Regions from separate parts of the Homo sapiens genome. Here regions 1, 2 and 3 are each linked to region 4. Evidence: promoter capture Hi-C in human tissues and cell types (Jung and others, 2019). All regions are on one chromosome and are shown on one strand. Each heading gives the region's core, a stretch centred on a gene start or on the middle of the fragment in contact. The rest is flanking DNA. Distances are from core to core; before and after follow the strand shown. Region 1 holds the start of EIF2B1 (eukaryotic translation initiation factor 2B subunit alpha). Region 2 overlaps KMT5A (lysine methyltransferase 5A). Region 3 holds the start of RILPL1 (Rab interacting lysosomal protein like 1). Region 4 holds the start of HIP1R (huntingtin interacting protein 1 related).

Region 1 (5,639 bases), core at 1,657-4,156, 800 kb before region 4:
GTTGCCTAGGCTGGTCTCGAACTCCTGGGCTCAAGTGATCCTCCCACCTCAGCCTCCTAAAGTGTTGGGATTACAGGCATGTGCCGCCGTGCCCGGCTCTAGGATGCTCATTTAATAGCAAAGAGCAGTAATGCCTTTCCTCCCTCCGTACTTTGCTTCCTGCAGTCCTGTCTTCTACATTAGGAGAATCTCTACCCCATCTTTGATTTCTGTGTATTCAAATCCCAATTACTCCTCAAAGCCCCAAACCAGCGCAAACTCTTTCTTCTTCATGACTCCCCTATCTCAGAGCAGAAGGAATGCCAGCCTCCTCTGCACTAAGCACCGGAATCTGCAATCCCAAAATCCCATTCCACCCTGACAACCACCCAGCAAAGGACATTTTCCTGCCATTTTTCATCAATTATAAGATGACCCCCACCCCTTGTTTTTTACATTGAATAGTTGTTGACATCTGGATGGTATCTTTATCATTAAGATTAGCAGCATTTTTTCTTTCTTAATGGTATATTAAATAAGGGCACATCTCATAATCAATATTATCTTAGATTAGCTGAAATATGATATATGGTATTCGTATTCTGCAAATGAAAGTAACTTGTCCTAAGTCACATATGGCCTGCTAACAAGTGGCAAGGCCAAAGCCCTGTTCTAAAGACAGATCTGCTTGACTATAAAGACTGTGGCTCTTCACTGCCCCACTGCCCACCTCTGACAACCCACAGCTCTCTCTTCTAATGACACTTAGCACTTACTATTTTATTTTACAGTTAGTTGTGCTTCTGATCTCTCGTCCCAGTCCTGCCCACTTAAGACTGTGGACTTCTTAAAAAATGATGGAATTTGCTAATCCTAGGATAAAATAATGTGTGTAAATCAGAACTGGTGTAGTGGCTCACGCCTGTAATCCCAACACTTTGGGAGGTCGAGGCAGGAAGATTGCTTCAGCCCAGGAGTTTGAGACCAGCCTGGGCAAAACAGTGAGACCTTATCTCTACCTTTTTTTTTTTTTTTTTTTTGCGACGGAGACTTGCTCTGTCGCCCAAGCTGGAGTGCAGTGGCACGATCTTGGCTCACTGCAACCTCTGCCTCCTGGGTTCAAGCAATTTTCCTGCCTCAGCCTCCTGAGTAGCTGGGATTATAGGTGTGCGCCACCTTGTCCGGTTAATTTTTTTGTATTTTGAGCAGAGACGGGGTTTCACCATGTTGGCCAGGCTGGTCTCGAACTCCCGACCTCAAGTGATCCACCCACCTTGGCCTTCCAAAATGCTGGGATTACAGGCGTGAGCCACTGTGCCCAGCCACTTTTTTTCTTTTTTAATAGAAAAACAAAACAAAAAAATGTGTAAATCACACAACAAAGCACCTAGGACAGAAGCACTTAATACAACTGTGTCTGCCAGACAGAAAAAGCGTTGCCTGTAAAGAAAGGTGTGCATCTATACACATGCAATGACCCTGTGAATTTCCTTCTTTAGTTCGCTACCTCATTTGTAGACAGGAGCAATGCCAGGCCTGCCTCCCTCACAGGGTTGTGGTATGGTTTCACATCAATTAAGAGAGGATGGACAATTATTACAGTTCCTGAAAGGACTCCCCTATCTCTATTCTTGCTCCCCACAGTCCATTTTCCACACAACAGCCACAGTGATCTTTTAAAATTGCAAACCAGATCATAACACTTTCTGGCTTAAAACTCTACAATGTCTTTGTATTGCACCTAAAAATAAAGGCCAACTTCTCTATCACGGCCAATAAGGCCCTGCATGACCTGAAACTGGCTGGTTCTCTGATCTCATCCCTCTAGCCTCCTTTTAAATCTTCAAGACATCTGACTCTGTATGTGGTAGTTTAATGTATGAATGAGTCTCCCCACCATCCTCTACCCGCAAGCTCTCCATTTCTCCCTTCTCAGTGTAACTTGGTGGCTCAATCTGCCACAGGGCCCATGCACTTAAAGTGCACTTCCCCCAGAACTTCACATAATCATTCAAGTCGGTTTCAATATCCTGCACTTTTCCTAGGCCCCTATCTAAAACAGCTCCTCCTCAATCCTAGTCACAATGTACTATTGTAACTAGGACCGTACTGTTACATCATCTTCATAGCTCTTTTCATCCTTTGAAAAATAATTTATTTTTTAATTTTTTATTGACGAGGTCATGCCCTGTCGGCCATGCTGGGTGCAGTACTGCCATAATAGCTCACTGAAGCCTCGAATTCCTGGGCTCAAGTGATTCTCCCGCCTCAGCCTCCCGCGTAGCTGGGACCACAGACACGCGCTACCACGCCCGGCTAATATTTCATTTTTTTTGTAGAGATGGGGTCTGGCTGTGTTGCCCAGGCAGGTCTCGAACTCCCGGCTTCAAGCGATTCTCCCTCCTCGGCCTCCCAAAGTGCTGGGATTACAGGCCTAATCCACCGGGGTGCGACCCGGCCGAAATTATTTTTATTTATTGTCATCTGTTTCACCCAGTAGACTGTAACCTCCACTAAGGCCCCTGTCTGTCACGATCTCTGCTAAAATCCAGAAAATAATGCCTGTACACAGGAGGCGATCCAAAACTATTTACTGAATGAATGACTGAATGCCTTGGCTACTCCTCTAAAGACCAAACGGATTCTATCCAGCCCAAAAGACACATTCCATCTGGCCAGTCGTAGCCGGACCGAGACAGCCGAGCCCCGGAGTCGAAGTCCCGCCCTGCAGGGTCCTCACCGTCTGAAACCATGGCTGTCCCAGCACCTCAGCGCAGAGCAAGTGGTGGTCAGGGGAGCGTCTCAAATCCTGCGCAGCCCAACGTCCGGCGCCGCCAAGTGACGCACGAGGTGCTGTGACTCGTGCCAGCCCCCTAATCTGCGGAAGTGGAGTGCGGGGAGTGCGCCGGAAGAGGGGTACGGAAGTGCGCCGGAAGTGGGGTGCGGAGGTGTGCAGCGCGCTGTCAGACTGGCTCGCAGGCGGCGCGGCCGGCGGACCCGTTCGAGACAGCGCGGGCGGCTCGGGTCCCCTGGGGCTCCGCAGCAGGAGGACGCCATGGACGACAAGGGTAAATCAAGACAGGCCAGGGCTGCTAGGCTACAGCAGCGCCGTTCAGGGGTCCCCCCAACCTCTCACATCCAGGCTGAGCTCCCGAAGAGATTTCTTTTGAATTTCAGGCTGCTCCGCTGGTTGTGTTTCCAGAGTCACAACTAAATCCCTCGCGCTGCTCTTGTTTTCAGGGATGCGCCCTGGCAGTATCTGCAGGCATCCCTCCCACACATACGCTCCTTCCCAGTGCCAGTCTCCTTCCTGCCTTGTTGGATCTGTCATTAAAATTAGAATGAATAAGGCATATTTGATGTGCTCATCTAGTATGGTTATTAAGTGAAAAACAAGGGCAAACTAATACACTTTTCATGTAAAGAAATAAAGGGGAGTGGGTGGAACTCCATGTATAATATTTGTAACATATATGTGTATGTGAATAGACATGTATTAGCATAGACTGTCTGGAGGGGTGCAGGAGAAATTGGCAAGATGGTTGACTCTGGGATCCTCTCAGATTTTAGGACCAAAGAGGCTGAAGAGAGAATGACTTTTCATCATCATTTACTCGGGCTTAATTTTTAGGCCTTGCACACCAGTAGCTTTTTTTTTTTTTTTTTTGAGACGGAGTCTCGCTCTGTCACCCAGGCTGGAGTGCAGTGGCGCAGTCTCGGCTCACTGCAAGCTCCGCCTCCCGGGTTCACGCCATTCTCCTGCCTCAGCCTCCCAAGTAGCTGGGACTACAGGCGCCCGCCACTACGCCCGGCTAATTTTTTGTATTTTTAGTAGAGACGGGGTTTCACCGTTTTAGCCGGGATGGTCTCGATCTCCTGACCTCGTGATCCGCCCGCCTCGGACTCCCAAAGTGCTGGGATTACAGGCGTGAGCCACCGCGCCCGGCCACCAGTAGCTTTTTCAAAATAAAAAAGAGCTCTTGCAAACAGCAAAGTGGTATTTTCTCTATTCCCATCAACATTTATTGCATCCCTGAAACCAAATACCCTAAAAAGAAAGTATTTTTTAAATTGTTTGCTTCTTAAAGTCAACAGTCATTAACAAGCTCTCTTGCCTTATAGGCTGCTAAATGAATTAGGTGAATCACTTTTTTCCCTTTTTCCAGAGTTAATTGAATACTTTAAGTCTCAGATGAAAGAAGATCCTGACATGGCCTCAGCAGTGGCTGCCATCCGGACGTTGCTGGAGTTCTTGAAGAGAGATAAAGGTATATAGAGAGTCATCTGTTAACACTCTGGGACTTAGGATAGTCTTTTTTTTCTTTTCTTTTTTTTTTTTTTTAAAGAGACGGAGCCTCACTCTGTCACCCAGGCTGGAGTGCAGTGGCGAGATCTTGGCTCACTGCAACCTCCGCCTCCTGGGTTCAAGCAATTCTCCTGCCTTGGCCTCCTGAGTAGCTGGGATTATAGGTGTGCACCACCTTGTCCGGCTAATTTTTTTGTATTTTAGAGACAGGGTTTCACCATGTTACCCAGGCTGGTCTCGAACTCCTGAGCTTAGGCAATCTGCCCGCTTTGGCCTCCCAAAGTGCTAGGATTACAGGTGTGAGCCACTGTGCCCGGCCGTTTGTTTTTTTTGAGACAGAGTTTTGCTCTTGTCTCCCAGGCTGGAGTGCAATGGCACAATCTCGGCTCACTGCAACCTCTGCCTCTCAAGTTCAAGCGATTCTCCTGCCTCAGCCTTCTGAGTAGCTGGGATTACAGGCATGCACCACCACGCCTGGCAAAATTTTTTTTTTTTTTTTTGAGACGGAGTCTCGCTCTGTCACCCGGGCTGGAGTGCAGTGGTGCCATCTTGGCTCACTGCAGGCTCCGCTTCCCAGGTTCATGCCATTCTCCTGCCTCAGCCTCCAGGTAGCTGGGACTACAGGCGCCCGCCACCATGCCTAGCTAATTTTTTGTATTTTTAGTAGAGACGGGGTTTCACTTTGTTAGCCAGAATGGTCTCGATCTCCTGACCTCGTGATCCGCCCATGTCGGCCTCCCAAAGTGCTGGGATTGCAGGCGTGAGCCACCGGGCCCGGCCAAATTTTTTTATTTTTAGTAGAGACAGGGTTTCACCATGTTGGCCACAGTGGTCTTAAACTCCTAGCCTCAGGTGATCCGTCCGCCTCGCCCTCCCAAAGTGCTGAGATTACAGGCGTGAGCCACCATGTTCGGCCAGGAAAGTCTTCTAATGACTCTTAGAAATGTAGAAAGTGAGAGATGCATGTTTGCCTGCATAAAGTAGTAATACAGCTCCAAGCTCAGCTTCTGCCTTCATTTCAGACCTTTCAATCTGGAGAGAGCTCTTACGTTGTCATGAAAAGGATCCCTTTCATAAGTGAAACAGACTTTGAATCGAGAGTGACTATGTTATATTGTGTTAACCATGATGCGTAAATTTCAGTAGCAGTTCAGCTTTATAAGTGTTTATTAGGCCTCCACCTTGTGCCAGATTCTGTACAGATGCTACAGGGAATATTCCAGAATAAATTCTGGTATTAGTATTATTTATTGTGATCCCCTAATTCAGCACCCTAAATGTAAGCATCTGGGTATAGCATGAAATCTTGTATAAGCAAAATAATAATGCAGCCTTTAATCTGAAGGGCTTGCCT
Region 2 (5,701 bases), core at 3,113-5,612, 560 kb before region 4:
CAGATCGGAAGCTCCAAACCAGTGTGGCTCACCCCAAACCAGCATGTCTTGACGGCATAGACTTTCACCAAACCAGATGGCACGTGTCAGGAGCCTGACACCAACTGCTGAGCTCAGCCCATTCCCCCTACACAGAGGCCCAAACCAGCTTGCAGCTTTTCCAGGCACTCAATCCACACCTGCAATGTGCCAGGCGCTGCAGTCTGTGCTGGGAACAATGGTGAATGAGTAACCTCAAGGACAGTCCCAAATCCTGCCACCTCCTCTCCATCTCCATTCCCACTGCGGCCCTGCAGCCCAGCCACGGCCCCGGCCCCGCTCCGGCCCCCTTGCTAGTCACCAGGCTTTCACTCTGACCCCAGGGAACACTCAGTTCTCCACAAGGTAGCCAGAGGGGTCTTTTAAAATGTAAATGAGGCCAGGGGCAGTGGCTCTCTCCTGTAATCCCAACACTTCAGGAAAGCCAGGAGGAAGGATCGCTTAAGGACAGGAGTTAGAGACCAGCCTAAGCAACAGATCCAGACCCTGTCCCTACAAAAAATAAATAAGCTAGGTGTGGTGGCGTACACCTTTGGTCCCAGCTACTCTAGAGGCTGAGGAAGGAGGAGGATTGCTGGAGCCCAGGAGGTTGAGGCTGCAGTGAGTCATGACTGTGACACTGCACTCCTGCCTGGGCAACAGAGTGAGACCCTGTCTTAAAAAAAAACAGAAAACATGACCAGGCATGGTGGCTCACGTCTGTCATCCCAGCACTTTGGGAGGCTGAGGTGGGTGGATCACTTGAGGTTACGAGTTTGAGACCAGCCTGGCCAACATGGCGAAACCCCGTCTCTACTAAAAACACAAAAATTAGCTGGGCGTGGTGGCACACACCTGTAATCCCGGCTACTCAGGAGGCTGAGGCAGGAGAATCGCTTGAACCCAGGAGGTGGAGTTTGCAGTAGGCCAAGATCGCACCACTGCACTCCAGCCTGGGAGACAGAGCAAGACTCCATCTCAAAAAGAAACAAAAAACAAAAAAAAACCTTCCCATAAACTTATTTAATAGTAATATACCTAACAAAACCTCACATATCAATATTAACCTTAAACATAAATGGACTAAAATGTTCCACTTAAAAGATATGAAAGATAAGGGTCAAGAAGGTTAAAAAAAAAAGAAAGATATACACCTGTTATCCCAGCACTTTGGGAGGCCGAGGCGGGCGGATCACGAAGTCAGGAGATCGAGACCATCCTGGCTAACATGGTGAAACCCCATCTCTACTAAAAATACAAAAAATTAGCCGGGCATGGTGGTGGGCACCTGTAGTCCCAGCTACTCGGGAGGCTGAGGCAGGAGAATGGTGTGAGCCCGGGAGGCGGAGCTTGCAGTGAGCCAAGATCGCGCCACTGCACTCCAGCCTTGGCAACAGAGCAAGACTCCATCTCAAAAAAAAAAAAAAAAAAAAAAGAAAGATATATATTGGTGGAATAGATTTAAAAAAAACAACAACAAAACTTGGTCAGGTACAGTGGCTCATGCCTGTAATCCCAGCAGTTTGGGAGGCCAAGGCAGGTGGATCACCTGAGGTCAGGAGTTCGAGACCAGCCTGGCCAACATGACGAAACCCTGTCTCTACTAAAAATACAAAAATCAGCCGGGCATAGTGGTGCACACTTGTAATCCAAGCTACTTGGGAGTCTCAGGCCAGGAGGCGGAGGTTAGTAAGCCATAATCATGCCACTGTACTCCAGCCTGGGCAACAGAGTGAGACCTTGTCTCAAAACAAAAAACAAAAAACAAAAAAAAAACTTCAACCAACAGTAATATACCAATGTTGGTTGTTACTTAGCTGTGACAAATTCACCAGAGTAACTTAAGTGAGAGAAGATGGGTAAGGAGTCTGGGGAACTCTCTGTATTATCTTTGCAACTTTTCTATAAAATTAAAATTATTGGCCAGGCGCGGTGGCTCACATCTGTAATCCTAGCACTTTGGGAGGCCAAGGTGGGCGGATCACAAGGTCAGGAGTTTGAGGCCAGCCTGACCAACATGGTGAAACTCTGTCTCTACTAAAAACACAAAAATTAGCTGGGCGTGGTGGCAAGCGCCTATAATCCCAGCTACTTGGGAGGTTGAGGCAGGAGAATTGCTTGAACCTGGGAGGTGGAGGTTGCAGTGAGCCGAGATCGCACACCTGCACTCCAGCGCGGGCTACAGAGTGAGACTCTGTCTCAAAAAAAAAAAAATTGCAAAATAAAAACATTTTAAAAACTTTTTGGCTGGGCACGGTGGCTCACGCCTGTAATCCCAGCACTTTGGGAGGCCGAGGCGGGCGGATCACAAGGTCAGGAGATCGAGACCATCCTGGCTAACACGGTGAAACCCCGTCTCTACTAAAAACACCAAAAATTAGCCGGGCGTGGTGGCAGGCGCCTGTAGTCCCAGCTACTTGGGAGGCCTTTTTAATTATTTTTTAAGATGGGGTCTCACGGCCGGGCTCAGTGGCTCACGCCTGTAATCCCAGCACTTTGGGAGGCCGAGGCAAGTGGATCATGAGGTCAGGCATTTTGAGACCAGCCTGGCCAACGCAGTGAAACCCTGTCTCTACTAAAAATACAAAATCAGCTGGGCATGGTGGTGGGCGCCTGTAATCCCAGGTACTCAGGAGACTGAGGCAGGAGAATCACTTGAACCCGGGAGGTGGAGGCTGCAGTGAGCCAAGATCGCGCCATTGCACTCCAGCCTAGGTGACAGTGTGAGACTCTGTCTCGAAAAAAACAAAACAACAAAAAACCCACAAAAGATGGGGTCTCACAATGTTGCCCAGGTTGGTACTGAACTTCTGTTCTCAAGTAATCCTCCCACCTCAGCCTCCCAAGTAGCTGGTGTCTTTTTTGTTGTTAATTACTCCCCATTGGAAAACAAGCCCTACGGGCTGGTCTAGTTTACTGTGGAATCTCCTGGTCTAGAACAGTGCACACAGCAGGCCCTCAAAGCAACACCACCACCATCACACACATAACCACCTTGCTGTGTGACCCATTCATTGCAAGTGTGCAGAGAGTGCTGAGAAGTACGGGGGCCCATGTAAACGGGAGTGATCATGGAAAGACCGGGGTAGTGGAATGGGGGTTTTTCTGCTGGGACCAAACACGGCAGGTAGGAGATGCGCAGAGGGAAGCTGGGACCAGGCCAGATGCCCCGGCACAAAGCCAGGGAGGCTGAGTCTCCCAAAGGCCTGGAATTTGGGGCCTGCAAACAACCAGCCCTGGGTTTTCTAAAGGGACTTCTGGCAGGAACCCACAAATGGGCCTAGAAGGAGATGGAGTGGGAGGGATACAAGGTTGGAACTAGGGCAGTTGAGAAGCGCCTGTGACCAGGAAGGAGGGGACCTTCCCAAGCGGAATCAGCAGGCTGCTTGCACATCTGGCCCTGGGGCCGAGCTGGGCATGAGGAAGCCCAGCCATTGCCAAGAGGCATGGTCCCTGCCCCGCTGCTGGCTGCCACCCCACCCACAGCCAGGCTGGCCGGCCAAGGGGCCCCTGCAGTGAAGCACTTGGTGGATAGGGCATCTCTCCAAGGCCCACCTTGTGTCCAAATCCAGCAGCCCTGATCCCACCCTGTTGCCCAGGACCCACGCCCTGGCGCTAGGCCCGCCCTGGCTGCTGTCTTCAGCCTCAGTGGAGGTATATAAGAGGCTCTGAATTGCAGTTTCACCCCAGACCATCTGGCCAACAACAGGCTGTATTATGCCCCACCCTCCTGGATCCACAGCCTGGGCCCAGCATGGCAGTCAAGTCAGGACTGACCCCACCCTTCAGATGAGCCCCAGCTGTCCCGTTCTTGGGCTTTATCTGTGCAGTCAGAAAATATTCCACCCTGACCAGCTCTAGCCACGTCATCCCGGCCAGCTATGGCCTCCCTGCCCTGGCCAGCAACAGCTTGCATGGCTGCACTCAGCAGAGCCAACACAAACAGTGGGGGGCAAAGCACGGCTCCCGGTCCAGGAACAGGGCGAGCTTTCTTGTGTTTGCAGACTGTGCTTTAGGGAAGCAAGTGTGTTCTTCCCTTCTGCTCATCTGCTGCAAGATTTAGCAGACCTGCATCCTGTCCCATCGCAGCCTTCACTCTGCCCAGCACAAACTCTTGCTTCTTATTAACAAGGCCAACTCGGCTCCCCCCACCCTAAAGTCCACAGCAGCCCTTGGTGGACGCTCAGCAGAGGCCCTGTGTGTGGGCACACCGCAGCTCCAACCCTGGCTGGGAGGTGTCTGGGATTCTGTGGTCTGGCACCACCTCACCATCTGCAGTGCTGTCTTTTTTTTTTTTTGAGACGGAGTCTTGCTCAGCCACCCAAGATGGAGTGCGGTGGCGCGATCTCGGCTCACTGCAACTACCGTCTCCTGGGTTCAAGTGATTCTCCCATCTCAGCCTCCCAAGTAGCTGGGATTACAGGCACCTGCCATCATGCCTGGCTAATTTTTGTATTTTAGTAGAGACAAGGTTTCACCATGTTGGCCAGGCTGGTCTCGAACTCCTGACCTCAGATGATCCGCTCACCTGGGCCTCCCAAAGTGCTAGGATTACAGGTGTGAGCCACTGCACCTGGCCCAGTGCTGTCTTTAAGAGTGACCTAGCAGGCCGAGCACGGTGGCTCACGTCTGTAATCCCAGCACTTTGGGAGGCTGAGGTGGGCGGATCACCCGAGGTCGAGAGTTCGAGACCAGCCTGACCAACATGGACAAATCCAATCTCCACTAAAAAAAAAAAATACAAAATTAGCTGGGCGTGGTGGCGAATGCCTGTAGTCCCAGCTACTCAGGAGGCTGAGACAGGAGAATCACTTGAACCCAAGAGATGGAGGTTGCGGTGAGTCGAGATCACGCCATTGCACTCCAGCCTGGGCAACAAGAGCAAAACTCCATCTCAAAAAAAAAAAAAAAAAAAAGTGACCTAGCACAGCCTCCCACTGCTGACAAATGTTTTAAACAGCTCATTCTTGGCTGAAAGACATTGCCTTTTTCAGGCAATAAAACCAAAGCTGCTCTCTGTGGGGAAGAAAATGGACCTTTTTAAAAATTTTTTTTAAATGAAGCTTCATCAATTAAAAGAAAAAGAGAAAGAATACTAGACCACTGTGTATCTGCGCATTTAACATCAAGAACGCTGAAGGAGTCCGCATGAGGGCTGAAATGCTGAAACTGCCAAAGCCGGGGTCCCCACCTCTCTGTGTAGGATGCAATCCTGAGCACCTCTCCCAACCCGGTGGTCACTGTGGGGGTGAGGGAGAGCAGAGGGGCAGCCCCAGGTGTCCCTGAGGGGGAAGAGCAGAGGGACCTGCCATGCCCTGCGTTTCCTTCACAGAAAGGCAATAACCACACCTCACTGCAGCAAATATTGACTGCCTGCCGCATAGCTCAACCCTCTGCAAACATGGCAGCGGAGGCCCGCATAGGCCAGCTGGCCTTCCAGCCGGTGCTGCTCACTGGTCTGCAGGCTCCTAGTATGGCAGCAGCGTGGGAAAGAGCAGACGGGAGTGACAACACTGAGGAAGCAGAGGTGGCGATAGTAACAGTTAGCTGGCACTTACTGAGTGCCAAGCATGGTTCTAAGGGTTCCTCTTGCATGACCACATTTATTGAATGCTCACCACAGCTCTAGCAGGTACTACATTATTGTACCATTTTACAGACTGGAGAGCCAAGGCATGGACAG
Region 3 (5,724 bases), core at 200-2,699, 700 kb before region 4:
ATTTATTTATTTATTTATTGTATTATATTATTATTTTGAGATGGAGTCTTGCTCTGTCACCCAGCCTGCAGTGCAGTGGCGCGATTTCGGCTTGCTGCAACCTCCGCCTCCCGGGTTTAAGCAACTCTCTGCCTCAGCCTCCTGAGTAGCTGGGATTACAGGCATGCGCCACCATGCCCGGCTAATTTTTGTATTTTTAGTAGAGACGGGGTTTCACCACCTTGGCTAGGCTGGTCTTGAACTCCTGACCTCGTCCACCTCAGTCTCCCAAAGTGCTGGGATTACAGGCGTGAGCCACCGCGCCCGGCCAACTTTTAGATTTTTAATCAATACGTGCCACGTTGGGGTGCGCTTTATGGCTACAAGGGCATTAAGATTTCTTCCCTCAAGGAGCCAAGATCTGACGGTGGAAACCTACCTGCAACCACACGGTGAAAACTCAGGATGCTAAGAGCAATCCTGATGGGGCAAGCAGGGGACTGTGAGTTTGCAAGGGGGTCCTTAACTCCTGCGTGGGGGGCGGGGAGGGTGGATGGGGTTCTGGGTTCAGGAAACGTTCTCCCGGGAGTGGGAGGGGGTCTGATGGACAAGTGGATTTGGCCAGCCCAAATGGACAGGGGGCCTTGGGACAAGAGAACTCGTGGTGCTGGAATGCCAAGCGGGCTTCGCTCTACTGTGAAGTGGCGTTCATGTCACAAGGAGCCAGTGATGGATGTGGCTCGGGGAGGCGCGCCCTGGGGCTCCGGGGATCCAGCATTCCTCGACACGTCGGCCCCTCTCCGGGCGCCTCTGCAAGTCCGCCTGGTGGCCGGGTCTGCGCGGAGTGTCTGCGGGCCGGGGGGGGTCCCCGTTCTCTTCCTGGGATGAGCCCCAGCCCGGGGACCTCCTCGTGACCCCTCCATCCCTCTCCAAGGCCGGGGCCGCTACCCGGAGCAGCGAATCGTCCCGCGAGACCAGCGCCCCCGGCCCCCTCTCCCGGGGCGGCCTGGACCCCTCCCGGCGGCCGGGTGGTGGGAGGAGTCAGCGCCGGGCGGGGGAGGGGCGGCCGGGGCACGGGTGAGGGGCGCCGCGGGTCCGGCGGCTGGAGAGGGGGGCCCGGAGTGCAGGCCGCGGAGTCGGCGCTTGGGGGGGTACCCCGGGGCGCCCCCGGGCGGCGGAAAGCGGGCGCGCCCCTGGCCAGGCCGGGATTGGGGCGGGGCGCGCGGCCTCCCTGTGGGGAAGCGATCACCCGGCCTCGCAGCCGCCGCCGCCAAAGTTTCCCGGAGGAGCCGCGGGCCGCCCTTCCTCTCCGGCCCCGCGCTCTGCCGCCCCTCAGGCCCGCACCGCCCCGAGGCGCCCGGCCCGGCTCCATTGAGCGCAACTCGGATCCCAACTTGGGAGGCGCCGCGGGCCTGCGCACGCGCGCGCCCTCCCCGCTGCCGCCGCCGCCGCCGCCGCCGCCGCCGCCCACTCGGGAGCAGCTCCGGGCCGAGCCGGGCGCCCAGACCCCGGGCCCGCACACCCCGCGCCGCCGCCCGTGCCCGCGCCCGCGCCCGCCGCCCGCTGCCCGCTGCGCCCTCGCCCCAGCGCCCGCTGAGCGCGCCCGCCCGCGGCCCAGGCTGGGCCCGGCCGGCCCGGCCCTCGACAGCGGCAAGTTTGGGAGTTGCACGAGTTTGCGGGGCGGGGGACAGGCCAGGAGGGTGGCCATGGAGGAGGAGCGGGGGTCGGCGCTGGCGGCCGAGTCGGCGCTGGAGAAGAACGTGGCCGAGCTGACCGTCATGGACGTGTACGACATCGCGTCGCTTGTGGGCCACGAGTTCGAGCGGGTCATTGACCAGCACGGCTGCGAGGCCATCGCGCGCCTCATGCCCAAGGTCGTGCGCGTCCTGGAGATCCTGGAGGTGCTGGTCAGCCGCCACCACGTCGCGCCCGAGCTGGACGAGCTGCGCCTGGAGCTGGACCGCCTGCGCCTGGAGAGGATGGACCGCATCGAGAAGGAGCGCAAGCACCAGAAGGTGGGCGGCGGCCTCGGTCTGTCCGTCCGGGCAGTGGGACCGCGGGGACCCAAGGGCTCTTCCGCATTGGGCAGCTGTGGGTGCGCACGTGTGTGTGTTCAGGGACCGGACCAGAGGAGACCCGACGTGGGGAGGGAGGGAGGCCCTGGCCTTCTTTTGCCCGACCAGGGGTGGCTGGCAGATACCACCCGAGAGATTAAGAGCTGTTCTCTGGAGTTCCAATCCCACCTTTACCGTTTAATAGCTGTGTGACTTTAGGTAAGTTACTTAACCTCTCTGTGCTTTATTTCCTCACCTGTCAAATGGTAATCATAATAGGACCCACCTTAGAAGAATTAAATGGGACCATATAAGCTAAGTGCTTAGACATATTATTCTCTTCCAGACATGAAATAAGCCTCTTGGCCTCCCGAGTTACCAAGAAGATGTGACATCAGGCCCAGGACCCTTTCTTCATCCCCCCCCCCCCCAGTCTCCCCAGAGCAAAGGGAATGTGACCTCCAGCCACTGAGCTTCGTGACCCCTAGTCTTCGGGTTCATATTTGCAACTTTCTTCCCGGGACTCCCCTAGCTTATGAACCTGTGGTAGCCCGTGTTCTCTCCTCTGATTTTATCCTTAATCCTCACAGGACTCTATAGAGACTATCTTCATTTTACAGATAAAGAAACCGAGGGTCACAGTGGGAGGAGCAATTTGTCCCAAATTAGTGGTGAGAGAGTCCCAGCCCCCGTGTCTCCTCCCCACCCTGTTTGAATTGGGGGAAAGGGATGATTTGGGGTGGCTTTAAGGCTAAGCCTCTGCCCTGTGATCAGGAGTCTCTCTGAATCAGGGCCTCCCCACTGGGCCTGGAGTTCAGACGAGGTTTCTGGAGAAAAGGAAGTGAAAGACATGTGGTTTCCTGCCCTAACCTCAGCCAGGGATGCTCTTGGCAGCCCCTTCAGACTGAGAATGGGAGGAAACACCTTTCCTTGAGGGATCAGGGTGCCTGAGCAGTCTCCAGCTTGCTGTTCAGCCTCAGGAAATACAGATGGCCTCTCTGAACCTCAGGGGCAGGCCATCCCTTATTGTGTACTTTGATGGATCTCTGTGTTTTGGAGTAAAATAGCCAAAGCTGGGTCTGAACCCTTTACCTGAGGGCAGACCCACAGGTAGGTAACAGCACCATTGCCATGTTTGACTGTGCTCGTCCTCATGGGTCCCTATGCCCTAGGGGCAGGAAGGAAACTCAGGCTCCCAAGAGTTGAGCAGCATTTCCGAGGTCACTCTGGGAGCCTGAAAATGCTTTGACCTGTAATTAATTTCAAGACTCCTAGAAGCTAGGACTTTGGAGCTAGACAGCCTGGTTTCAAACCCTACCACTTGCAGGCTGTGTGATCTTGGGCAAATCACCCAGCATCTCTGTGCTTCAGTTTCCTCAGTTCTAAAATGGGATAGTAATAGTACCCCCATTAGAATGTGATGAGGTTTAAAGAGTTAATATAAATACATATAAAGTGTTCAGGACAGAGCCTGCCCATAGCAAGGGCTTTGCAAGTCTTAAAATTCTTTTTAGGCCTGGAGAGACATTCATTGAGGTGCTCACAGGCTCATATTAGGAAACCGTCCCCACCCCAAGCACCTCTACTCCTACCCTAGAGGCCTCCATCTCTCATAGAGGGTCAAGGAGGCAAGGGACCTTGGAAATTCTCTCGTGTGGCGCCTCTTATTAACAGGGACCAAGGGGCTTTGACCAGATCACACAGAAGTCCTGGCACCTATACTGTCCCCCAACTGGGGCTCTTTAGTTCTGTTGCGGGGGAGCTGGGAGAAATCCTTGGAAGCCATCGGAGGCCACCAGGTCTGAAGTCACATGGAATTGTCAGCAGCTGCACTTGTTGCCTCTGGAAAGTGTTCAGCTGGGAAGTGAACACCGTGCGCTCAGGGCCAGGGCTTGTTGACTTACATTGAGGATGACCTCTCTAAATCAAGGATGCAATTCTTTTCCCACCCCAGCCCCAGACCCGTTTACTTCACATTCTTGGGATGGAGAGAGACTTGTATGATTTTTTTTTTTTTTTCCTGCAGAGTCTCAAAGGCTCTTCAAGGTGATATTTCCACAAAAATGTTTTTGGCATGTCCTGGTTTAGTCTGTCCACCTCCATTCCTCTTCCCTTTCCCCTCTTCTTCCCTACCCCTTCTTCCTTGTCTCTCTCGCTTTCAGCAATTATGGCTCCAGTAAAGGACATACACTTTCTTCCCCCTACTCCTCCTCTCAGTAGACCCACTCACTCACTTCCACTCATCACTCAGATGCAGGCCACAGTTGTGTCATGTTCTGTCTCATTACTCAGTCTGCAACTCTGATGACAGGCCATAGCGAGCACAGTGCCCTTCTTGGTACCATGGCTCTGCAGAGAAAAGCAAAGTCTCATGTCAGGCAGCAGGCGGGTAACAGGGAAGAAAGGGAAAACACAAATAAATTCTAGAAAGCAATGGCTGGGCTGATACACTCGCGTGTAACATACCAGACTATGCTATTCATTCACTCATTCAGCGAATATATTTACTGAGAACCTACTGTGTGCCATGCATTGTTCTGGGCACTGGGAAGACAGTAATGACCATGACAGATGAGGCCTTGGCCCTGATGAGCCTGACTTTTTAGTGTAGTGCTATACCATAGAAATATTATGCAGCTTTGCCATGTTAATAAAAAACAGTGAAGTTGGCTGGGCGCGGTGGCTCACACCTGTAATCCCAGCACTTTTGGGGGGCCAAGGCGGGTGGATCACTTGAGGTCAGGAATTCAAGACCAGCTTGGCCAATATGGCAAAACCCCATTTCTACTAAAAATACAAAAATTAGCCGGGCATGGTGGCGAGTGCCTATAATCCCAGCTATTCAGGAAGCTGAGGCAGGAGAATCGCTTGAACCCGGGAGGCAGAGATTGCAGCGAGTCGAAATCACACCATTGCACTCCAGCCTGGGTGACAGAGTGAGACTCTGTCTCAAAAACAACAACAACAACAAACCAGTGAGGTTAATTTTAATATATCTTATGGGACCCAGTAGATCCAAAATATTTTCATTTCAACATGTAATCAGTATAAAAACTTATCATTTGATATTCTGCACTCTTTTTTTCCTACTACATCTTTGAAATCTGGTGTGTCTTTAACCCCTGCTGCACATTTCCACTCAGACCAGCCACATGTCAAATGCTCAACAGCCACGTGTGGCTACTGACTTTCCATGGGATGGTGCAATTATTCTAGCATGAGGAAGAGATAGAGATTTTTTTTCTCCTTTTTTTTTTTTTTGAGTCAGGGACGTACTCTGTCATCCAGGCCAGAGAGCAATGATGGCATCACGGCTCCCTGCAGCCCTGAACACCTGGATTCAAGTGATCCTCCTGCCTCAGCCTCCTGAGTAGCTAAGACTACAGGCACACTGTAATTTTTTTTTCCTTTAGAGACAAGGTGTCACTATGTTGCCCAGGCTAGTCTTGAGCTTTTGGGCTCAAGCAGTCCTCCTGTCTTGTCCTCCCAAAGTGCTGGGACTACAGGTTTGATCCACTGTGCTTAGCCAGGATAGATTAAAAAAAAAAAAAAAATTCAGGCTGGGCACAGTGTTTCACACCTGTAATCCCAGCACTTTGGGAGGCCGAGGCAGCTGGATCACTTGAGGTCAGGAGGTCAAGACCATCCTGGCCAACATGGCAAAACCTCATCCCTACTAAAAATACAAAAA
Region 4 (5,867 bases), core at 2,445-4,944:
ATGTTAAACTTTTCAGCCGAGGAAGGGAAGGGAGAAAGACGGTTGGGCCAAGTATCTGCTGAGGCCCTTCTATGCCCTAGGTGCTCTTTCATGTTTACATACTGGATGTATTAGTTCCTTATGGCTGCCATAACAAATCACACAAACTCGCAGTTCTGGAGGTCGGAAGTCTAAAACAGGTCTCACAGGACTAAAAGCAAAGTGTCAGAAAGGCTGTGTTTCCTCCTGGAGGCTCTAGGGAAGAATCCATTTCCTCGCCTTTTCCAGGCTGTGGAGGATGCCCATACTCCTTGGCTAGTGGCTCCTCCCCAGCAGCAGGCAGTGAGTCTTTCTCACATGGACTCAGTCCGACCTCCTCTCCTGCCTCCCTTGTCCACATTTAAAGACCTTTGTGATTACACTGAGCCCACCTGGTAGCCCAGGAGAATCGCCCCATCTCAAGGACCATCTCAGCTGATGAAAAACTCTAATTCCACCTGCAACGCCTTACTAAGTCATTAACGTAGTCACAGGTTCTAGCTGCCACACGGTCTCTCTCTTACACCTTACAACAGCCCTATACGATAGCTGGAACGATCTGTATGGTTTTTTTTTCAGACAAGGACATAGATTTACAAGTTAAGCAACTTGCCAGGGACACAGGCTAGAGCCTAGGTCTATCTACCTACTAGTGCCTTTATGATACCACACCCTCTTTTTAAATGGTACAGGCAGTGTTCAGGTTCCAAATACAGGCATGCTGTATTTTGTAGTATTCTGTATTCAGAAAACAGCAACAAGACAATAAAAGTTTGTCACCTCCATTTTGAAAAGGATTTTTTTTTTTTTTAACCAAAGGGACTAAAGTCATAGGGAAGAAAAGCATACACTGGTTTTCTGGACATTCCCCTGGGATTATACACACACACCATGCAACAATCACAGGCACCAGCTCCCAGCAGGCACATGATCGCCTCTCTTCACACTCCTGAGCGCTAACCCCACAGATATTTGCAAACAGGGTGTGTCCTGTCAAAAAAGCTCACAGGAAAGCAATTATCTTCCTCCTGACCCAGGAGCCCAGGGGAGGAAAGCGAGGCTGGCAGGCTAGTGAATATTTAAATTCTAAGCCAGCCTAGTGCTCCTGCCACAGCACACAGTGCTGTGGTCAATGCAAGACAAGCAGCGTATTACAAAGGAAGCCAGGTCCCTGGACTGCATGTGCTATTTTCTGTCCCGAAGGAGACATGGAAGTAACAACCTCAGCTCTCCAGGTCCTTTTCCACCACGGGACCTGGCTGGCGGCTCACCTGATTATTTCTGGGAACGATCTAATTAAATATTAACCACGTACAAAACCTCATTCTTACATTCCTCAATAAGTCACTGTGAAGACGAGCAAACCCAGACAATGAACTCAAACTCCAACTTTCCAGAAAATGGGGCCCTAGAATAGGTAAGACCTGTGACATTCACCCATTACAAAGTTATTCATTGTTAGTGGCCCTCTTAGCCTCTGAGAAAAAACCAGAGCAAAACAAAACAAAACAATCCACCTTCGGAGAGGTGCCTGTAATCCCAACATCTCGGGAGGCCGAGGTGAGGCGGGTGGATCGCCTGAGGTCAGGAGTTCGAGACCAGCCTGTCCAACATGGTGAAACACCTTCTCTACTGCAAACACAAAAATTAGCCAGGTGTGGTGGCGCACGCTTGTAGTCCCAGCCACTTGGGAGGCTGAGGCAGGAGAATCACTTGAACCCGGGAGGCGGAGGTTGCAGCGAGCTGAGATCATGCCATTGCACTCCAGCCTGGGCAACGAGAGAGACTCTGTCTTTAAAAAAAAAAAAAAAAAATCCACCTTCTTGTGTATCAAACCAACCACTAAAATGTGTGGTCCTGTATCAGAGATTCTCTCTTTGACACTCAGGAAGGTTGCCCTTGACTTCTTATCATTTAAGAGTAAGATCAATGAAGTTGGTCCTTCACATCCCATCTCCTCCATGTAGCAATCAGACCTCTTTATACGTCCTCAAAGGCACGAGAAAAAACTCAGTGAATAAACAAAGTTTCTGACAACATCCAGATATGTCTGCCAATTCAGGTTTTCTCCCTATGATCTACAAGTTCTTGGCACAATTAATTATGTATTGGTGACTTTAAATTTTTTTAAAATGACGGGCTATCCGGGCTGAACCAGTTGATGGTGATGAAGATCACAAGGCTAAATTGGTAATTTGCAGCCACCTGGGTTCCAGCACTTCGCATTTCTAAAGCCTTGATATCCTCAGGATTTATTATCGCTTTCTGGGTCAATCCCAAGCACAAAGGTTAGAAGGTCTCCCTGCGTTCTCTCTCATTTCAAAACGAAAGCTGTTGTAGAGTGCGTGTGCTAACTAGATGTGAAGGCAACCGCAGAAGTCATAGCTCTCTGCAAGGACAAGTGGGACGGAACTTGCAAATAGCCGCCACAAACGCAAATGTCACCAACCTGCTTTAGACAGGAGTGGGAGGGGTCCTCTGGCTTCCTTTATCTCTAGAGTAAAATTTTTCAGCCATTTCAGTCTTGGTTGACTTATTTTGGCAAATAAACAAGTATGCCCCCCTCCACCGCCCATCCCCCAAGCCTGAGAGCACTTCAAGAGTTTGTAAAATAAAAAGCAACAGGAAACCAGAAACGCAGCAACGTCTGCATCGTGGGTCCCCGGCACAAACACAAGTACAAAACGCACACCCGCGCCCTTATTTCATTTCTAACGCCTTCCCAGGATAGGCATCATCTGGAAGAGTTACAAGCGTGGGAGGCGCAGGAAGGGAGCCCCAGGAAGTTTCTGTCTGTCGGGCGCCGGTATTTAATGAGGGGGTGTGCACCTATTTATACGTGGGCAGCGCTCGGGCAAACAAGTCTGGCGACATACGAGAAGCTTTTCACCCAGCAAATAATAGGAGACTGTGCAGCCCTGGGAAACCGCTCACGAGAGAAGGAAGCTGGGAGTTTAAGGAATTTCCTTTAAGGAAATTGCCCGTGGGGGCATCGGTTTCAGGGGGTAGGAGACGGGGGCAGGAGCCGGCAAGGAGCGGCACGGAAGGTCGGGGACCCCAGTCGGGCCGCGCCGGCCCCGGGAGCACCTGGATCCCCAGCCCCCTCGACCCCCGGCGCGCTGGGCTCGCGCACACCCAACCCCGGCCCCATCTCCGTCCCCCGCCGCCTCAGCTCCGGCGCTCCCGGCCCGCGCACACCCTGACCCCGGCCCCCTCAGCCCCGGCGCCTCTGGGCCCGAGCGCCCGGCGGGAGCGGGGAGCGCGGCTTCCGGTTCACCTGCGCGCCGGTCGGCTCGGGCCGCGGAGGCCGGCGGGGGGCGGCAGCGGAGCTCTCGGAGAGCCCGGGCGGACACAGGCCCTGCCCCCGCGCCGTCCCCCGCCCCTGGCCGGCGCCTCCCGGGCCCCAGCCGTTCGCGCGTGAGGGGTCAGGGACGCCGCTTGCCCGCCCGCCCGCCGCCGCCCGCCGCCCGCCGCCCGCCGCCCGCTCGCCTGGGTCTTGTCGAACTGCTCGCGCTCGGCCTCCAGGCTGTGGCCCGGCCTGCGGCTCAGCACCCGCGCCGGCACGTTCTTGATGCTGTTCATCCTGCCGCCGCCGCCCGCTTTTGTCCGGCTCCGTCCGCGCGACTCACAGCCTCACGGTCCGGCAGCCCCAGCCTAGGCACCGCGAGGCCACCGCGCCGCGCCCGGGCCCGCCCGCCGGGGAGGAGCCCGCCTCGCCCCGCCCCCAACTCCAGGGCACGCCCCTCCCCCGCACACCTCCAAACCCGCCCCCCGCGCCCGCAAACGCCTCGCCCGCCCCCAACTCCAGGGCGCGCCCCTCCACCCGCACACCTCCAACCCCACCCCCCGCGATCTCGGGACACGCGCCTCTCCCCGCACATCCCCAACCCCCCATCCCGCGGCGACCCCGGCACACGCCCCGCCCCCCGCACACCTCCAACCCCCACCTCACTCACAAGGTTGGGGCACAGGCCAAACGCCCCCCCAGCTCCTCCCCACCTCTAATCCCCTCCCTAAACCCGGAGGGGAGGGTAGGGGAAGGGGGAGGGGGAACCCCTCCCTCCTCCTTCCACCCAGGGTAGGGACCCCAGCCAATTCCCTCTCCCCACCCCTCCTCCGAACTCACTAAGTCTTGTCTGCACCAGGGCAAGATCTGGTTAATTGGAGAAAATCTGGCCTCCATGAGTCTGGTCGGTGGCAGCACAGATAGACGCTTTTTTTCCTTTTTGGTCTTAATGTATGTGTCAAAAGGCACACAATGACACTCTCCCCTCTTTGTGCAATTCTGACATAGCTGCAGCTGTTATCCATGCGGGGATGCAGGATGCATTTCCAGAGACGCCGCCGGCTCCGCAACCGGACACCTCGCCAGCTCCAGGGACAATGGGGGCTGAGGCCGGGCGCTGTTAGGCTGGCACAGAAGGCAGGCGGATCTGAACAGCAAAGTACACCGAGGAGATGCCGCCAGGGGTGGCGTGAGGCTTTTTAAAAACATTATTATTGGCTTTCCCTTAAAATTACTGGTCACAAGACTGAAGTAAAAAAATAAATAAAAGCCCAGAGTCCTCTCTAAGCGTAGCTCTCAGATGGGTATTGTGTTTCTGCTGTTTCCCTTTCCTATCGGAATGCAGATGTGGAATCATGCATAAAGGTCCCTTGCTTTTGAAGGGAGAGGCACCGCCTGCCTGTAAGGAGGAAAATGACGCCCACGTAATCCTGACCCTTGTCTCCCTAGTGAGACTGTAACCTGTCTGAGGTCAGAGACCCTTTCCTTTCCTTTCCTTTCCTTTCCTTTCCCTTTCCCTTTCCTTTCCTTCCTCCTTCTTTTCTTTCTTTTCTCTCTTTCTCTCTCTTCTTTCTTTCTCTTTCTTTCTTTCTTTTCTTTTCTTCTCTTTCTTTCTTTTCTTTTTTTTTAACCGAGCTTCACTCTTGTTGCCTAGGCTGGAGTGCAATGGCACAATCTCACCTCACCGCAACCTCCGCCTCCTGGGTTCAAGCAATTCTCCTGCCTCAGCCTCCCAAATAGCTGGAATTACAGGCATGTGCCACCACGCCTGGCTAATTTTGTATTTTTAGTAGAGACAGAGTTTCTCCGTGTTGGTCAGGCTGGTCTCGAACTCCCGACCTCAGGTGATCCGCCCGCCTCGGCCTCCCAAAGTGTTGGGATTACAGGCGTGAGCCACCACACCCCGCCAGGGACCCTTTTCTTTAACTGATTCCTCACCCTCCAGCCCAAGAGCTAGAGCTGACCCCAAAAGATAACATTTGCCAAGACTCTCCTGTCACTGCACCAAAAGGAGAAATTAATCCTGTTTTCTCTAATTCCAATCACTAAAAAGCTTCTTTATCAGAATAACGGTAGAATCACAATAGCTGATATGTACTGAATGCTTATTATTTGGCAGGCACTGGGCTAAACCCTTCATATGTAACTTAGTCAACTTAGTTGATAGCTGTGCTCTAATAAAGACCACAGTAAAGGGGCTTTTTGCGGTACTCCAGCTGTTTCTCACACTCCTTTTTCCACACGGAACAAAAGTGGTTCTCCTGTGACCCTTCACGCATATACAGCATCCCTTTTCAACCAGGCAACAGCCCCTGTAGGTCTAGCACATCTGCCACAGAGACTTCCCATTAGCAACTGGCTTTTTAAATAATCACAGAGCCTATTACTGTGCCGGGCACCAGGCTCAGCATCTGTTAAACAGTATCTCACTTATTCTTCTTTAAAGTTGTTGATGAGGCTCGGCACAGTGGCTCACGCCTGTATTCCGAGCACTTTGGGAGGCTGAGGCAGGTGGATCACTTGAGCTCAGGAGTTCGAAACCATTCTGGGCAACATGGTGAAA

What was found. Contacts are between HindIII fragments. The study calls those that stand out against the background at their distance.
Region 1: a contact is called between the fragment with the promoter of EIF2B1 here and the fragment with the promoter of HIP1R in region 4, in 1 of the 25 tissues and cell types used here (spleen).
Region 2: a fragment that was not itself captured here is called in contact with the fragment with the promoter of HIP1R in region 4 in 1 of the 25 tissues and cell types used here (bladder).
Region 3: the fragment with the promoter of RILPL1 here is called in contact with the fragment with the promoter of HIP1R in region 4 in 1 of the 25 tissues and cell types used here (spleen).

What each region holds. Positions count from the first base shown.
Region 1 is chr12:123,630,953-123,636,591 of GRCh38, reverse strand. EIF2B1 (eukaryotic translation initiation factor 2B subunit alpha) reads left to right here and starts at 2,906. Exons shown (of 9, transcript NM_001414.4): 1 at 2,906-3,047; 2 at 4,146-4,247. The coding sequence starts at 3,035. GTF2H3 (general transcription factor IIH subunit 3) reads right to left here and starts at 2,763. Exons shown (of 13, transcript NM_001516.5): 1 at 2,720-2,763. The coding sequence starts at 2,732. RefSeq lists an enhancer at 2,690-2,879. The HindIII fragment of the contact is 12,225 bases long and covers 1-5,639 here.
Region 2 is chr12:123,396,897-123,402,597 of GRCh38, reverse strand. The region is part of intron 5 of KMT5A (lysine methyltransferase 5A); the gene reads right to left. Among named protein-coding and RNA genes, the nearest start is that of KMT5A, 16 kb to the right of the region's middle. RefSeq lists an enhancer at 1-726. The HindIII fragment of the contact is 4,904 bases long and covers 1,911-5,701 here.
Region 3 is chr12:123,529,444-123,535,167 of GRCh38, reverse strand. RILPL1 (Rab interacting lysosomal protein like 1) reads left to right here and starts at 1,449. Exons shown (of 7, transcript NM_178314.5): 1 at 1,449-1,994. The coding sequence starts at 1,686. RefSeq lists silencers at 521-706, 726-1,415 and an enhancer at 1,631-2,448. The HindIII fragment of the contact is 25,082 bases long and covers 1-5,724 here.
Region 4 is chr12:122,833,284-122,839,150 of GRCh38, reverse strand. It overlaps HIP1R (huntingtin interacting protein 1 related), which reads right to left and starts at 3,694. Exons shown (of 32, transcript NM_003959.3): 1 at 3,508-3,694. The coding sequence starts at 3,600. LOC124903040 (a long non-coding RNA gene) reads left to right here and starts at 3,918. Exons shown (of 2, transcript XR_007063501.1): 1 at 3,918-3,977; 2 at 4,313-4,596. RefSeq lists silencers at 3,183-3,382, 3,553-3,792 and an enhancer at 4,043-4,092. The HindIII fragment of the contact is 9,768 bases long and covers 1-5,867 here.